Linked DNA regions of Homo sapiens: all the other regions are linked to region 2. The links are contacts of gene promoters, found by promoter capture Hi-C in blood cells and fetal thymus (Javierre and others, 2016). All regions are on one chromosome and are shown on one strand. The core of a region is centred on a gene start or on the middle of the fragment in contact, and the rest is flanking DNA. Distances in the headings are between cores, read along the strand shown. Region 1 overlaps AHCTF1 (AT-hook containing transcription factor 1). Region 2 holds the start of LINC01341 (long intergenic non-protein coding RNA 1341). Region 3 overlaps AHCTF1 (AT-hook containing transcription factor 1). Region 4 overlaps AHCTF1 (AT-hook containing transcription factor 1).

What was found. The method cuts DNA at HindIII sites, captures the fragments that hold promoters and counts their contacts. A CHiCAGO score of 5 or more calls a contact.
Region 1: a contact is called between a fragment that was not itself captured here and the fragment with the promoter of LINC01341 in region 2, in 1 of 17 cell types (megakaryocytes). The highest score is 6.2, in megakaryocytes.
Region 3: a fragment that was not itself captured here is called in contact with the fragment with the promoter of LINC01341 in region 2 in 1 of 17 cell types (megakaryocytes); the score reaches 5.2 in megakaryocytes.
Region 4: a fragment that was not itself captured here is called in contact with the fragment with the promoter of LINC01341 in region 2 in 1 of 17 cell types (megakaryocytes); the score reaches 6.9 in megakaryocytes.

What each region holds. Positions count from the first base shown.
Region 1 is chr1:246,870,231-246,873,375 of GRCh38, forward strand. The region is part of intron 24 of AHCTF1 (AT-hook containing transcription factor 1); the gene reads right to left. Among named protein-coding and RNA genes, the nearest start is that of AHCTF1, 60 kb to the right of the region's middle. The HindIII fragment of the contact is 1,678 bases long and covers 987-2,664 here.
Region 2 is chr1:246,787,850-246,790,969 of GRCh38, forward strand. It overlaps LINC01341 (long intergenic non-protein coding RNA 1341), which reads left to right and starts at 1,768. Exons shown (of 2, transcript NR_015422.1): 1 at 1,768-1,849; 2 at 2,597-3,120. RefSeq lists a silencer at 1,009-1,088. The HindIII fragment of the contact is 6,171 bases long and covers 1-3,120 here.
Region 3 is chr1:246,897,266-246,900,202 of GRCh38, forward strand. AHCTF1 (AT-hook containing transcription factor 1) reads right to left here. Exons shown (of 36, transcript NM_001323342.2): 10 at 2,800-2,937; 11 at 2,186-2,247; 12 at 943-1,071. Among named protein-coding and RNA genes, the nearest start is that of AHCTF1, 33 kb to the right of the region's middle. The HindIII fragment of the contact is 693 bases long and covers 1,233-1,925 here.
Region 4 is chr1:246,854,082-246,857,019 of GRCh38, forward strand. AHCTF1 (AT-hook containing transcription factor 1) reads right to left here. Exons shown (of 36, transcript NM_001323342.2): 31 at 1,649-1,746. Among named protein-coding and RNA genes, the nearest start is that of LINC01341, 66 kb to the left of the region's middle. The HindIII fragment of the contact is 1,441 bases long and covers 962-2,402 here.

The DNA of each region.
Region 1 (3,145 bases), core at 576-3,075, 82 kb after region 2:
GCCATGAGTTTGAGAATAGCCTGGGCGACATAGTGAGGCCCTCTCTACAAAAAATACCCAGGCACGGTTGCAGTCTCAGCCACTCGGAAAGCTGAGGCAGGAGGATCACTTGAGCTCAGAAGGTCAAGGCTACAATGAGCTATGATTATACCACTGTACTAGAGCATCTGTGACAGACAAAGACCTTGTCTCTTAAAAAAACAAAAACAGACTAAAGATGTGATGAATTGCTGTAATCTCATGATAAAACATGAATAAATGAGGAATTGCTTCTTACAGATAGGCAAACAAGTGGTTTCTTGAGACAGAATCTACAGTGTTGAAATGATAAAGTGTAAACAGATAGAGGGTCTCCAGGGATTATAGGAATTTTACATTTAAAAGAGAAAAGTATAATATGTAAGCAATATTTTAATTACTAGCTCCTCTAAAGAGGAATCTAGTATAAATACTGTACCCTAAACTTTCTAGCTAAAAGAGGGTATAAAACCTCAAAAAAAAAAAAAAAAAGCCCTAGGCTATTTAATTTCTCAGGGACAGGGGTGTCCTTCCCAGGACAGGAAAATGGCTGTGTATCAAATACCTCCTCCTCAGAACCAAAAATTCTTGAAAATGGCCGGATTCTGTCACATATAAATTCCCAATTCGGGTATTTTAACAAAGCCTTTTTATAAAAAGCTACAAGAGCTGGAGTCAGACCCTTTTAAAGAAGACAAACAATACAACTGAGCCTTCGAAAAACTAAAAACAACCAAGCAAACAAAAAGTGACTGCGCTCCCACTGTAGCCTTGCTTAAGTTGCCAAACCTTTTGACTTATCTGTCTCATAAAAGGCAGGGAACAGCTAGCCAGGGGAGCACTTACCCAAATGCTAGGACCACTAAAAAAGGTGGTGGCTCATTTTTTTCTAACCAACTTGACATGGTGGCCACCAAAAGGCCCCCATGTCTTAGGACAGTGGTTACTACTTGCCTATTAGTGAGAAAAGCTTAAAAACAAACCATGACTCAGACATTAATGGTCTAGGTCCTCAGTTATCCAGAGTGCTAAAAACAGAGACACCACTCGCTTACTGATGGGAGGATGTTACAATAAAAAGTTAAATTAAGAGGCAGCCACATCAAGGTGTGCCAGATCCTTACTTAACCCTGCCATGTTTCTTTCCACCTCCCAGGAACTGCTCCCACACAAATACTCAACCACTACTGATAAAATGTATTCTAGTCAAAAGGACCTAAAAAACAAACCCTTTCAGAACTCTCAAGTTAACAAAGCCTTTCTTCGTAAATCAGAGTAACATCACAGAAAGGGGCCCAGAAAAACAAGGTATACAGTGCTGTCCTCACTTGGAGTTAAAGAGGCTAACAGCCTACCTCTGTGAACCCTGACTAGATGAGCCTCATCTTCAGGACAGGCTAAGGCCATCATGTCTCCACAGACTCTAAGTATGCTTTCTCTGTAATCCATGCCTACAGTGCATTTTTTTTTGAGGCCTCCTGACTGCAGACTATAAGGAGGTTAATAATATTAAAAACATTACAGCTATTAGAGGCAGCAGTATAGCTACCTAAAAGGGTAGCAGTGGCCTACTGCCAGGGTCACAAAAAAATAAAAAATAAAAATTTGAGGTTATTAAAAAATAATAACAACCTAAAGACACAGCTACTAAAAAGACAACACAAACATGTGAACTTTACAAATGACCCTGATCCCAGACATCCTACTCCACAAGTCCCAGCCTCAGTGTTCACCTCAGGAGTTAAAGCCAAACGCAAAGGGTATTTTCCACACTTAGATTCAGAAAGATGAACTATTAATGACAAAAAAAAAAAAAAAAAAAGAACCTAGATTCCCAAAAACCTAGGGTGGTCTCTAACTAAATATGGTCATAGATCATCACATTATGGTAAATAACAAAACAAAACAAACCTTACGCAATTAGTTACTAAAGATACCTGATCTAAAAGATAAAACAGATCAAGGATCTAACAGGTGTCTCCAATTTGTACAAAATAATACTCAGATCGGGCTCCCTTGTGACTCCACTAACCCAAGCTGTCCAGCTGGGGTGGCACGCCAGGAAAAGACTGACAAGAAGACTTTACAGTGATGCCCCAGGACCCAAAAACTTCAGGTACCTACTAGTGTAGACACCTTTACTGGCTAAATAAAAGGGATACACCCTTGTCACACACAAAAAGACAAATGAGGTGGTCAGAGCTTTACTCAAAGACATCATCTTGAGGTTCTGGCTTACTCCAACCAATCCAGAGTGACAACAGAACTGCCTTCATTTACAAAGTTACTTAGGGGGTGTCCTCTGCCTTGGAAATTAAATAGAGGAGGTTACACATAACTTAAGAAACCTCATTCATCTAAAAAGGTCAAGCATAGTAATAAAACATAAGGATCACGCTAGCCAAACTATGCCAGGAAACTCAAAAACTGACTAAAGCTCCTTCCCATCGCACTATCATGGGTGCTGAAAGGGAATGGGACTTGGCCCTTTCCAATCACTATATAGAAGAGCTTGCTTGGCATGATTGAACCTTCGAAGTGTGCTGCTGTCGAGACCAAGAGGGCAGTAAAACATGCTGTAGATTTTTAAAAATACAAACTCTTAAAACATGTGAAACCACAAACTTCTAGTTCCCACTGAGGTTAAGCTTCACCCATATTAACCTAGAGACCGGGTTCACCTTAAGACTCAAAAATCCAAATCGCCTCCAGACCAACTAAACTGTTTGGACCATGTATTATTAAGCACTCACTCTTCTCCTAAGTTTCAGGGGCTCAGACCCTAAAAGCCATCATTCCTGAGTGAATCCTGCACCAGAGCCCTCAGATCAGGCGCTACTAGGTTCGACTTATTCCTATAAGCCAGTCTCTGATCTCAAGCTTCTCTTCTGGGGAAGGGATATTACATGTTAAGTAAATGTGCCCTTGCCATACTCTTGATATATTCAAACTTTCTCCCTTATAGAACTCTCTATACTCATTACTCTTCTGTAAAAGAAAAAAATCTTAACCGGTGATAAATCACCATATAAAAAAATAGACTCTTTCTCCCTGTGCTGTTTAGTCCCTTTTATTACTGTGGCTGATGGTCTCTGGAAAGACAATTCACTAGTCAATTTCTCCTGCA
Region 2 (3,120 bases), core at 518-3,017:
AAAAACAAACAAGGGAAAATGACACTGCCTGGCTTCTCCTTACGTGGTTGCTTATCTCGACCCATGAATCCTGGCCGCAGGCAGGAGGTCCTCTGCCCCCAGTTCCCATTCTTGGTCTCAGGGTCCTTGACCCAAGGTGGCTCCAGACTGGAGGAGGGTGGGGCGAGGTGAAACATGGCTGGCTAGACGGAAGGCCTGGAGGTATCCTCAAGCTGCTGCTGGCACAGCAAGTGACCTGTGCTTCTCTTATACTTGGGGTGGCTTGAAGGAGGGGCTCGTGGAGATTATGGGAGGATCAATCTCCCTCCCAAACCCAGGCTGGTACTGCCTCTAATCAGGAAATCTCAACTCTTAGAGACCCCTGGCCTGTGGGTGCACACAGTGCCCTTGGCCCTGAGGTCTGACCCCAAACTGCTCACACAGCTGCTGCCTTGTTGGGGACCCAAGTCTTCCCTAGGGTCCGAGCCAGGGTCTGGGGCTGGTTCAGCTTCATGGCGCCACCAGGGCCACAGGGGCAGTGGCACGGTCAACCTCTGAGGACAGGTCAATGAACAGATGGCTTTTCCGGGCCTGGTATGACAGAGTCTTACTGGTTCGTTGTTTTGTTTTGTTTTGTTTTGTTTTGAAATGGAGTCTCGCTCTGTCACCCAGGCTGGAGTGCTGTGGCACGATCTCAGCTCACTGCAACCTCCTCCTCCCAGGTTCAGGCAATTCTCCTGCCTCAGCCTCCTGAGTAGCTGGGACTACAGGTGTGTGCCATCACATCCGGCTACTTTTTTGTATTTTTAGTAGAGACGGGGTTTCACTGTGTTAGCCAGGATGGTCTCGATCTCCTGACCTCGTGATCTGCCCGCCTCGGCCTCTCAAAGGGCTGGGATTACAGGCGTGAGCCACCGCGCCCGGCCTTGTTCATTTTTAAAAGTCGAAAACTTCAGCAGAAGAAGAGCAAGGAGGTGAATTTCTAATCGATTTATTTTGCTGAAATTCTGAGAGAAACACTGTGGTGTGGGGACAGGGAGGAGCTCTTGCACACACACAGGTGGATCTGCCCACTTTCCACCAGCGGTTTCATTACTGCGAGTTCAGGCAGAGTCCCGGTGCCGAGCAAAGCGTGGGGCCCCTCCGGGAAGCCCGCAGGTCACTCAGATCGCAGCGGGCTCCGGCCTGGCCAGGATTCTGGGGGAGCCGCCCGGAGCGCGGTGAATCGGGGCGGGGAGAGGGGCGGGGAAGGCGCGCGAAAGCCCCAGCAGAGACCGGCAGCGGCGGGCGGCCCGCGTGGGCTACTGCTGGGGGCTGCGTTCGGGCGAGGAGGGGAGATTCTGTCTCAGAGGCCTCGGGCTGCACGTTCTTCCGGGCCGCGCATTTGCAGCCCACAGCAGGCCCCAGCCGGCCCCTCTGGAGTTGGGCCACTGCTTCTGCAGGCCCAGCAGGCCCCTGGGGGCGGCCGGAGGCCACTAACTGGCTTCTCCAGCTCAGCATTCTTCTCTCATTTGCTGGGTACCCCACTCTCTTCTCTACCCCTTTGAACCATCTTTACCCTCATTCCTCAGGGAACGTTTAACGAGTTGAATGTTTACCATGTAGTCACTCTATATGGAAATCATAATTCAATTTTGTAAACATCAGACTTTGACAAAACAAATGATGATGTTCTTAAGGAAAGCAGAGAGACACAGTGTGAAATCGCTGCTCTCAGATCAGCACACGGGAGAGGCCAGCAGTCAGGAGGGGGCTCACCGAGTTTGTCTGCACTCGCTCCCTCCGCAGCCGCCCTCTCCAGCTGGAAGAAGTCGTAATCGAACCTGCTCAGGTCCTCACTGCCCCACTCCGAAGGAAACCCCACGTACAGGTAGGTGCTGTTGGATCCCAAAATCAGGCGGTCCTGGGGAGGAGACGGTGGGCTCAGGAGGGGTTCGAGGCCAAGGAGGGTGAGGTGAACCTCCCCAGTGAGAAGGATCTGAGGAATGTCCTCCCCTCAGGAATCCCCCAGACAGGGAGAGACGCAGACAGGAGGGAGGTGGCCTCTGGCTCCTGCGTTCACCTTCATTGCACACATTGAGGGCGTGACTCCCTTGGCCCTGGGGTTCTGTGGGGACCACCCAGAGCCAGGCCCTCCCTCCACGCTTTCCAGGCTGGTCTGGGTGAGTGCAGCAATGGCTGCAGGGGACACCAGGACCTAACTCAGACTACAGGCTACAGACGGCCTTTTCCGAGGCGTGATGCCCAAGCTAAGCCCTCCTGGGCGGTAAGTCTTGGTGAGGCAGAGACGGCTGCTGAACAACCAAAAGAAGGGCAGTGTGGCCAGGGACAGGAGGCCGAGGGAGGTCACTGAGGGGGCTTTCCAAATGGGGAGCGGCCAATCCCCATCTGCCTGTCCTGTCTGAAAGGCTGTGGCCACCAGGGAGGGGAGAGGGCTGCTGGGAAGCTGGCAGGGGCCCCAGGGTTGGCAGATTGGGGAGGAAGAGGCAGCGATGTTTGCAAGATGCTGTTCAACCCCTCTCAGTGACAGGCTCTTAGAAAAATCTAAAATGGCACAAAATGTTAGAGCTGGAAGGGACCTTGGAGAACACCTAGTTCAGCCCTCCTTGTTTTCCAGGTGAGGTCAGAGGAGTGAAGTGACTTGCCCAAGACCACACAGTGAGTCAGGAGCAGGCCTGTCCCTCCAGCAGTGGTGCCATGTTGTCCCCAAGCCATGGTGGCAGAGGAGCTGGTGTGAACGCCCCATCCTGCCACGTCTGTGATGTGGGCACCTCACATGACTGTCCCCTCCCAGCTCTTGGGGGGGACCTAGGACATTCTGTGAGCCTGCAGGAAAGTTTACCAAATGCTGCAGCTTTGTCCTGGTGGTGATGGGCACCCCGTTAACGGCAACCTTGCATTTGCTATGTGGAGTGACCGTCACTTTACCGTCGGCATTTGTGAAGGAAGCGTGTTTATCTGAAATTCTAAGAAGATGAGAGTCAAAGACACCCAGCAAACGGCGGTTTCCGTGAGCAGGTAGGCTGACCTTTCTCATGTGCACAGGAGGGAAGGTCTACAGCTGCGGAGGATGGCAGGTGGCATCTCGGGGCCTCCTGTGTGCTGTGGCCCATGATGCATGGGGACAGCAGCGGGCGCAGA
Region 3 (2,937 bases), core at 329-2,828, 110 kb after region 2:
ATCACGTCACTGCACTCCAGTCTGGGCAACAGACCGAGATGCTGTCTCAAAAAAAATAAAGGTAGTAACAAACAAATAAACGAAAAAAGTCTATTATTTGCTGATGGTTGCACACCTTGAAAGTTATGTAGATATCAAATAAATATACAAAAATGAATTGCATTTTTCCATATAGCCATGTGTTGCTTAATGATGGGGATACATTCCGATGAATGTTTCGTTAGGTGTTTCATTGTTGTGCAATCATGGTAAGAGCGTACTTACACAAACTTAGATGGTGTAGTCAACTACATATCAAGGCTATGTATATTGCTCCTAAGCTACAAACCTGTATAGCATGTTACTGTGCTGAATACTGTAAGCAACTGTAACACAATATGAAGTATACGTGTATTTAAACACAGAAAAGGTACAGTAAAAATACATTATTACAGGCTGGGCAAGGTGGCTCATGCCTGTAATTTCAGCACTTTGGGATGCCAAGGTGGGAGGGTAACTTGAGGCCTGGTGTTTAAGACCAGCCTAGGCAACATAGCGAGACCCTGTCTCTACCAAAAAAAAAAAGGGCTAAGCATAGTTGTGCCTGTCTGTAGTCCTAGCTACTTGCGGGGGCTGGGGTGGGAAGATCGCTTAAGCCCAAGAGGTTGAGGCTACAGTGAGCCATGACCATGCCACTGCATTCCAGCCTGAGGCAGCCATGAGGTGTTTCCTGTCCTGTATCCTTCTATACAGCTAAGTCAACCTGCTGCCAAGTTATGGCCTATTGGGTATTAGGAATAGGAATTTTAAACCAAACCTAAGACCACAACTGCTGATCACCCAGAGTCAGCATTACACTACTTCACCTATTTTTGCAGAAATTATCTAATACATTTTTACTGTAATAGAAAGCTAATAACGTGATCCAACCAAAAGAAACAATAGAGTTAAAAATCATCTCACTTGGCTTAAACTGGAAGGCTGAACATCAACAAATCTTGGGGAAAGAAGGCCAGCTACAAGACATCGATTATAACCATCAGGAATGAGTTCATTGAGTGATGGACCTGATTTCTTTAAAAAAGTCAAAGTCTGTAACAGATAAATTAGTAAGGCATCAATCAATGCTCAATTTGAATAATCAAATTTAAGATTAATTAATTACACTTAAAATTTAAGTAAAATTTAAAGATAGCAAGTGGAAATTATGAAAGACTATATTTCCTGCAAGAAACAGAGTTTATAGGTTCTTAAGCTTAACCAATGCTTGCTAGTTGTGAATACTACTATTAGCAAAAGGTAGCTTATATATTTTTATGAACTGTATAACCCTGCTGTCTTCTCTAAAGCTGACAGATTTGGTGACATCTTGACAAAACACACACACACACACACACACACACACACACACACACACACAGGAAAACTCCTGCAGTCTACTCCTCTTTATCTAATGTGAAAGAGATTTGATATTAAGTATAAATACAGCATTCATCCACATCTGGACGATTATCAATGAAAAGGTCTGCCACATCATACTTCCCTAGAAAAGCATTTTTCAGGCCAGGCACGGTGGCTCACGCTCATAATCCCAACACTTCGGGAGGCCGAGGCAGGCGGATCATCTGAGGTCAGGAGTTCGAGACCAGCCTGGCCAACATGGTGAAACCCCATCTCTACTAAAAATACAAAATATTAGCCGGGCGTGGTGGTGAGCACCTGTAATCCTAGCTATTCAGGTGGCGGAGGCAGAAGAATCACTTGAACCTGGGTGGCAGAGGTTGCAATGAGCCGAGATGGTGTCACTGCACCCCAGCCTGCGCAACAAGAGCGAAACTCCGTCTCAAAAAGAGAAAAGTATTTTTCAAAATTCTTTTTTTTTTTCCTGTGCCAGGCACTATACCACTGTGCTAGGTGCCTTCTTTGCATTACTTCATTTCCTCATAAGCTTTCTGAGGAGACAGAAAGCTTGAGGTTCACGTAGCTAGCATCTACATAAATTAGTTGCTAAAAACATACAATACGTCTTCCGGCAGGCTGTCATTAGTAACTGATACTACTAGTTGATAATCTCATAAACCTAGCAGAAGCTACCATTTAAGCTGAAACAACTGTCAATATCACTAAGTAAAACTTAAATCCATAAATCAACTATATTCTAAGATCTGACTTCAGTTCAATTAAGAAATCACTAGTTGTTACCTACCTCCTTCTGAAAGCCAGTACAAGTTAAATGAACAACTCCCGAGTTTAACAAACAAGTGGCATCTAAAAAAAAGATTTAAAAAATAATCCACTTACATATATTTAAAATGGCATTAATAGAACAAAATTTATCCAATAACAGACTGCAAGGCAAGGTGTCAAATTATTACATGTAATAAATCTTTAAATAAACTTTTCTAGGTATTTTCATCCTAAGAATAGATAACAAACCTATTACACAGCAAAACAAGAAAAAAGCAAAAAACAAAACCCAAAAAACTCCAAGCACAGCTGAGAAACACAGCAAAAAAAATAAAAGCTACTATAAAATGCACCAGATGTGAAACAGTTAATATCTTTCCTAGCAAGTTCAAAATAAGTCATAATTCCTTTATAAAACATATAAATACTAAATATCTCCAAGTCATAATTCCTTTATAAAACATATAAATACTAAGTTTCTTGTGTGTATATATTAATTTCCTAAGTTATCCATATGTTAACTAACAGTGAGATACAAACAGATAACACTAAATGAATAAACTACACAACGTATACATTTACATACTTTTGTGCATTACTTTTCTTAAGAGGTAATGTTAAGGAAATACATACCAAAATTATAAGTGCTTGGATTAAAAAACTGCTCGGGAGGTGGATATGAAGGAGGGACTCCTCTATTTAAACTTCTCTCATGTACTAATATATCCAAGATGCCATGTGGAGAAGTCCTACTTACAACAGACTCCAATG
Region 4 (2,938 bases), core at 432-2,931, 66 kb after region 2:
GAGGTCAGGAGATCGAGACCACCCTGGCTAACACGGTGAAACCCTGTCTCCACTAAAAATACAAAAAATTAGCCAGGCGTGGTGGCGGGCACCTGTAGTCCCAGCTACTCGGGAGACTGAGGCAGGAGAATAGCGTGAGCCTGGGAGGCGGAGCTTGCAGTGAGCCGAGATTGCACCACTGCACTCTAGCCTGGGTGACAGAGCGAGACTCTGTTTCAAAAAAAAAAAAAAAAAAATCTGTACATACTTCTGGACCCAACAAGTCCATGGTTAGGAATCTACCCGAAAGAAATACTGACATAGAATGTAATGTGCACAAGAATATTCACTGCAGAAACAGCAAAACAAACCCCAAAATGGTGATTGGCCCAAATGTTCAGCAATAAGCAATTAGTTAAGCATGTAACATCTACACTACAAAACACTATTAGAGCTGTTAAAAAGAACAGGATTAATCTATATTCCTGACAGAAAAAATGTCTTAAATATATTACATGAGAAAAGAAAGTTGCTTTTTTGATAATGATCATTTCTAACAGCTAACATTTACTAAACTTCAGGTACCAAGCGCTACACAAAACACTTTACATGCAAGGGGCTTAATCCTGACAACTCTAGGAAATGGGTCTTATTAATATTCCCATTTAAAACTATTAATATTTTACCAACAAAAAAAAATAGAGACACAGCCCTTAAGTGCAGAACTGGGAAGTGCAGAACTGGGTTAGGAACCCACACATTCGGGTTCAGCCCCCTGCACTCTTCAGGCACCGTCTTGTCTCCTCTTCCAACATATCGGGAGAAATGGGCACAGAAAACAAAAATTCAGGAAAGACACTTTAAATGGTTAATTATGGACCCCTAAAATGGGTGATCGGCTTTTTACATGTTAGACAATTCTCTCTGGATTACTCCATAATCATGTATTACCTTAATCATGGGACAAAAACTAGTCTGCTGAAGCTTGCCGTATACCCCATTCATAATGTACCAGGAACAAAGGCATAACAGTTGAGAGCATGGGCTCTAGAGTCAGATAACAACTATGTCATAGTATAGTGCTGTGAGGATTAAATGAGTTAATAGACACAAGATGATCAGACCAATTCTGGGCATAGACATTCAAGGTGTCTGCTTCCCCTGAATCCAACTGTAAGCTCCTTAAGAAAATCCTATCTTCCTCATCTCTGTATAGCCAGGGCCTAACTGAGAATAGGCCTTCACAAAAATGCTCATTGGATTAAAAAAAAAATTCCATATATTTGTTAATTTCCCTGGAGAATATTCAGTCATTTGTGATTATTTTCTAATAATGAAAAGTCAACCTTGGCCTTAAGTTATCACAAACAAACACGAAATAACTCTTCTGAGTCCAAGAAGATCAAACGGCAGGGATGCATTTGGCTGTGGACTAGTAATCTAAGACTTTGAATATTAGAGCCACAGAATGCCTTACAAGCAACCCACTGTCTGACAGCTTATATATCTCCTTAGAATACTTCTACACCAGGAAAGCTGACCAGAGAGAGGAATAACTGAGGAGGAAAAATCTGAATAACACAATAGATTATTTTGTTCTAAGAACAGAAAACTCTTCACTCAAAACACAAAAATGGAATAATCCTGAAGTCAAAATTATTATACATACATTTATTGTCATTTGCTCTAATTGCAGGGGTGTAGGTTTCAACAGATGTTAATCCTTCGTCCAACACTGGTACCTTGGACTTCTGGGTGAAGATTTTCCTTTAGAAAAAGAAATACATACCTTAGTGTGTAAGAAGATCCCATCTGCTTTAACCTGCTTTAGTCCTACCACCTAACCTGTCATTTTGGTGATGTAAACTGAGGTTCAGAGAATTCAATACAACTCAAGCTCATTCTGAACAATAATATAAAATTTAAAAGTGAATTCAGAAACAATGCTGTACTTGTTTTACCCATTTTCTAATGTTTTACTCTTTTGGCAACAATGGCATGGCCTTAAAGTAGAAATGAAATGATTTTAAAATGCCTGTCAGTATACATTATATTTAAGCCAATTTTTAATAATCTGTGGCCAGTCTTCAAATAAGTCTGTCAAGTATTCTGGAATATTTTCTATGAACTCAGTAGAGGCAAGGTTCAATATTTTAATGCTACCTAGAAAAAGTATGATAAATGACTCAGAATAAGAGACCAATGAAACCTGTATTAATCCACATGAAAATAAATCCTGGAATATGATGACAGTGTTCCTTTAATATTCTAATCTGACCTTTCTCAAAACCCAATTAAAGCATGCTAATTTTGAAAATTACAACAAATAGTATTTGAAAGTAAATTCAATAAAAAGGTATTTGAAACATTTATAGATTTTACCATAAAAGTAACAGTGATACATCACCACAAAATATCAAATAAGCTTATATTTTAAAAGGAACTAGTTAGCCAAGATAGTGAATATGCACCCAGGTTCTCACTGGTAACTCTCATGTGATTCCTTCTCATGCTGGTAACTCTCATGTGATTCCTTCTCATGCGACTGCTCTTTGCTTTGCAATTATCCATGAAAGCCATTGCAATAAATAACATTAGTTTTCATTAAAATTCAAAAAACATTACAATGAAAAAATAATTTGGATAATCCTTTCATACTGGCTTCTACTTTTTCCATGCAGGCCTGGCAAAAATTCCAGCTAATCTAGATTTCTCAGGCGTAAAGCATGTGATTTAGTTCAAGGTACAAGGGGTGACTATCATGATACTGAATTGTATAGGTGGTCTGGTAAGTCCCTTTCATTATGTATAAAGTAACGAACCATTTATAATGTTGTAAGTTATATTTTGTGTCGGTTAATTTTACTGAATCACCCTTACTACTACTTGATAACTGAAGCTGTCCCTTTTTTGTATCCTCTACAACGGTGTTATTCAAAAGTGCGGACATGCAATCTGT